Linked DNA regions of Homo sapiens: region 2 is linked to region 1. The links are contacts of gene promoters, found by promoter capture Hi-C in human tissues and cell types (Jung and others, 2019). All regions are on one chromosome and are shown on one strand. The core of a region is centred on a gene start or on the middle of the fragment in contact, and the rest is flanking DNA. Distances in the headings are between cores, read along the strand shown.

The links. The method cuts DNA at HindIII sites, captures the fragments that hold promoters and counts their contacts. A contact is called where the count stands out against the background at its distance.
Region 2: a fragment that was not itself captured here is called in contact with the fragment with the promoter of CALML5 in region 1 in 9 of the 25 tissues and cell types used here (H1 embryonic stem cells, IMR-90 fibroblasts, bladder and 6 more).

What each region holds. Positions count from the first base shown.
Region 1 is chr10:5,498,315-5,500,822 of GRCh38, reverse strand. It overlaps CALML5 (calmodulin like 5), which reads left to right and starts at 1,253. Exons shown (of 1, transcript NM_017422.5): 1 at 1,253-2,126. The coding sequence starts at 1,385. The coding sequence ends at 1,825. The HindIII fragment of the contact is 7,245 bases long and covers 1-2,508 here.
Region 2 is chr10:5,447,617-5,450,124 of GRCh38, reverse strand. All of the region lies in intron 3 of NET1 (neuroepithelial cell transforming 1), which reads right to left. Among named protein-coding and RNA genes, the nearest start is that of NET1, 36 kb to the right of the region's middle. The HindIII fragment of the contact is 5,840 bases long and covers 1-2,508 here.

The DNA of each region.
Region 1 (2,508 bases), core at 4-2,503:
GGGGAATAAAGGAGTTTGTTCCCTGTGTACGGGCAGGGGCTGGGGAGAAGAATGGGAATCTATGGAGATCAGAGGGGACTTGCTTGGGAAAGGCATTTTGGGGACTCCAAGGCAAATGTCCCCTCACAACTGTAGATCACATCAGTGGAAGGACTTGGGGATGGTCCCCCGAAAGCTTAGCTGTTGCTCTAAAAGTTGGTCAAGGCAAGTGGCCCTGGGGGTTTCCTTCCAGAGAACAGATCAGATTGAGGACCCCAGTAGGCTCCCAGATGGGTCTCTGTGCTTAGGGCTGATGCTTAGTAAAACCACAAGGAGGGCCAAGTTTGATGGCAGCCACCTGTTCTGCATCCTCCTGCACCTCTGCCTGCACCTTTGGGGTATGCTGGGCACTGAGGTCCCCCGTGTCTCGCTGCAGCAAAACTCCAGCTGTAACTGTTTGACGCCCTGTGAATGGAACGCCTGCCACTGAGCTCCCAGGGTGTCTGCACAGGGAACCTTGGACTTGGCGATGGAATTGAATTGTAGGAATCCCTGAGCTAGAAGGGAGTATTCTGGGGAGACAAAAAGTCTTTCCCTCTCCTCTGAAACTGCACGTCACATGTTCACTTGATAAACACCATCTCAGCACCAGCTATGGCTCTGAAGGCAGCCCTGGTCCCTTGCTTCCTTGAAGTTATAGGCAGTGAGCCCCATCCTCTGTCTCTAGACCCTGGCCTGGGAATCTCATGATACCCACAGTTGTGCCCTGGCAGAATCAACACTACCACCCACTTCCCTTCCACCAGCCCCAGCCTCAGGGCAAGAGCTAGGCAGTAGCACTGGAGAGAGGGGTACGGAAACACCAAACACTGGGGCCTGCTGTGCCCTTGAGGGAGCCCTCTTCAAGCCACCTCCCCCTCCAGTCTCAGTCTTTGTGAAGTTGCAGAAGCTGTCTTGAACCCCTTGGCTTGGTCAGGATCTCCGAGAATCAGCTGCAGGGGAAACTATCCCTTGGGCAGAATGTTCCTGGAGGGAGGTGGTTGCTATCAAGGCCAGGCGGGGTTGGCAGGCTAGCCATCCGATACCCCGACCCCATGGCAGTTCCCACCTGGCACCTGACAGCTCTCCCAACTCCCATTCCTGCATTTCCTGTCTGCAGCTGATCTGGCCCTCCCTGGGAGGAGGCTCTCACCCCAGGGCATTTGGAGGGTGGGGAGCCTCCCTCCTCCCTTTGTTCCGATTGCAGAAAAGGAGGGGGTTCCCATGCCAAGGCAGAACTGTCTGGGACAGACGCTGCCCGGATCCCTGCGGCTGCCTGCACTCTGGACCACGAGCTCTGAGAGCAGCAGGTTGAGGGCCGGTGGGCAGCAGCTCGGAGGCTCCGCGAGGTGCAGGAGACGCAGGCATGGCCGGTGAGCTGACTCCTGAGGAGGAGGCCCAGTACAAAAAGGCTTTCTCCGCGGTTGACACGGATGGAAACGGCACCATCAATGCCCAGGAGCTGGGCGCGGCGCTGAAGGCCACGGGCAAGAACCTCTCGGAGGCCCAGCTAAGGAAACTCATCTCCGAGGTTGACAGCGACGGCGACGGCGAAATCAGCTTCCAGGAGTTCCTGACGGCGGCGAAGAAGGCCAGGGCCGGCCTGGAGGACCTGCAGGTCGCCTTCCGCGCCTTCGACCAGGATGGCGACGGCCACATCACCGTGGACGAGCTCAGGCGGGCCATGGCGGGGCTGGGGCAGCCGCTGCCGCAGGAGGAGCTGGACGCCATGATCCGCGAGGCCGACGTGGACCAGGACGGGCGGGTGAACTACGAGGAGTTCGCGAGGATGCTCGCCCAGGAGTGAGGCTCCCCGCCTGTGTCCCCCTGGCTGCGCTCTGAGCCTTCAGGGCCACCGCCCGCTGCTGCTTTTGTGCTGGGACTCTCCGGGGAAACCTGGTCGGTGGATGGGAAACTGCCTCCCCCTGGGAGGAAGGCTTTGCGCTCCGGGGCCTGGATGCGGCGCCCTCGGGCCGCCTGCGAGCCCCTCTCTGCCTCCAGACCTTGGGCAGAAGGAGGCCTCCTTGGGCCTGGTCCCCCTTTGCCCTGCAGTGGAATGAGGGCCCCTCAGCCCCGCATTGATCTAAATAAAGGACTGCCGAGTTCCATGTGTGCTTGGTGTTTGTGGGGCGGCTGCCTCCGAGGGCCCCCACCTGCTTCCAGGGTTCCTTCCAGCCCACCCCTCTCACCTGCGGTGGCAGAACTGCCTGGAGCAGGCCCCAGGGGCAGCTCCTGCCTCCCCTGACGCGGAGCAGAGGGCAGGTGGGCAGAGGATGTGTGAGGATGGTGCTGGGCGGTGTCTGTGGCTCCAGGTTCTGCCTGAGCTGCTGGTGAGGACCTGGGCACGTGTCCCGCACAAACAGGAGCGGGCGCCTCGCATGGACAGACGGAGCCCAGCTGCCAGCCTCTGCACGCAGCCTGCCTCTCTTCGGCTGCAAATAATATACGTGTACGTCTGTGTGTGCATCTGTGTGTGTGTCTGTGTGTCTG
Region 2 (2,508 bases), core at 7-2,506, 51 kb after region 1:
TGTGCTTCTGAGGACATGTGTGGATGCCTCCCCCACGTACATCTGTGCTGACTGACTGACACACGCGTGTGCAGGGGCCAGCACAGGCATTCCTTTCCATTTAGTAAAGACAGCACAAAGAGTCTCCTGTTGGACTGAAGATAGAATTACCTCACAGAGTAAGAAATGCCGACATTTCACTGGAACAAAGCAGTTGTCAGAAAGTTCTGTTCCGCTTTTTGGGAACAGAGGTTAACTCCTCTTCCTTGTTTCATGCATAACAAATTTGACTTCCCAGAAAATATAATATTTAATTTCAACTTAAAAGGTCTTTGGAAAGGTGCTTTTCCCAGTGAATATGAAAGGAAAATTTTGTTAGCAGGAAATAAATTTTTGATATCTATTTTATCACATAAAATCAAATTAATGATAAAAATTTATTATCTTTATAGGACCAGTTACTGTACAACTACTAACTTCCTGGTAACTCAAAATTATGTGATATTTTAAAACTACAGAATTTAGATTTAGATAAGTGAATGTAAATATATCTAAAGCATACTTCTGAAACGAACACGGGTTTTGTTGATGTGGTCTCTTTAGGGTGGCAGCATATTATGCCAAGTGGTATTTGGTGGTTAAATATGTTCCACAGTCCTTTAAAAATCCAACTATAATCCCACTTCTCCACAAAGGAAATGCTGCTTTTCAGAGTTTATCAAATCTAGGATGTCTTGGGAAGTATGATGCTTACTCAGGAAATACAGGTTGGGAGAGGGAGAGAAAGGAGGAGGGCACTTTGCACTTTTTCACATGCTTTTGGGGATGATGGTGGATAACTTTCCTGCCTCACTCAAAGGACATACATGAAGAATGTTTGGCAAATACAAAACAAACTTTTAGTATATATATTTTAAAAGTATGAACAATTTTAATGACTAAAATAACGAAAAGTGTGATTATGAAATGTAAAGGTATAATGCTGCTACTAATTTCAGGATACATATACTATTTGAAAACAGACTCATACATGAAACTTCTGTGGAAAAGTGACATGGTTTAGGCATTCACAGGCCACCTAAAAGATTGGGACAAAAATTTGTGTCTTTCGGAATACACGTCAGAAATTGGCCCATGTGAGCCGAAACCAAAAGTAGTTTTCTTTAGAGGTCCACATGAACTATCTTAATAATCTTGATTTGACTATTAAGAACCTAAATATTTGCAGTCACAAAACAGATTCCTAATACAATATTTAGATAGGCCAGACACAGCATTTGGAGGTGATGAAGGGGGAGTGGAACAGGCGCTTTCTATCTCACCACCACCAAATGGAAGGCACCCATAGTTCCACTGCTAGGATTGTTTATTTTTTACTTTGGAGTCCTGGAAACACGTTATGGCAAATTCAAGAAGCTTAAAGAACAGATACGAATACTGGAACCTTACTCTCCTCAAAAAAAAAAAAAAAAATCCAAAAATCCATGGGAATAAACAAAAAAATGCCAACAAGCTTTACATGCTCAATGAATTTTCTGCTGCAGGGAACCTTTCACCAGGGCTAAAGTTCACTTGGAGGGAAAAAAAGTCCAACACTCTCTAACATAAGTTTATGTTGTCAATTTAGGTTAATTTTTAATCAGACTAGGTTAGCCAGGCAGTCACATACATTATTATAGGCAATCTGTCCACAGATCAGGGTATTAATTAATGTTAGTAATCCACTTGTAGTTAGATTTTATGCCTTAAAAATTTCTCGACATCTATAAACAGAAAATTGTTGAGAATAAGTTAAAGTATTTTTCAGGTTATGCCTTACAGCTAACTGCAACGACATGGAAAAATCCTGTTGAGAAGTCAGCATTCTGTAGAAAGGCTTTTTCTTCTAATGATGCCAGTTAGAGAACATATTTTAGGAGGGTCTCTTCTATAACCAATCATATCAAGACACTGAATAAAAAAAATAGTATGCACCTGGGTCTATTCCTTTGGGTTATAATAGTTAAATAATCTTCTCTTAAAATCTTTAGCAAAACTTTAAAATCAAAAGAAAATAAAAGTTATTTTTAAAAAGATAAAAACGAGTTATGATCACATGGGATGAATTCCTTTTCTAGAAATACTCAAATTATTTAGAGCTGTGTCACTAGATCTAAAACCGTGACAACATTCCTAGTGCTTGTAACTTAGAAATAAAGGTAAGGCAGAAACACAGCCCATGCTGATACTAAACAAAGGCCAGCTTCTATGGGCCCAACAGATGATAAGCTGCAGGATTCACACTAGTGACTGTGGATGACTGCTCTACTCAAAGGAAATACTTACACATTTTGAGAAAACCGACACATAGGCAAAGACCAAAACCAAGAACAAAAACCAAAGCCAAACCACACCAAATAAAAGTGTACTTCCTGAAGACGGCAGCTATTTTAACTACCAAAAGGTGTGTGTATGTGTACACATGACAAGCAACTTTGCTGGGGTATTCAGTAAGCTTTACATATTTAAAATGCACAATTAGATAAGTTT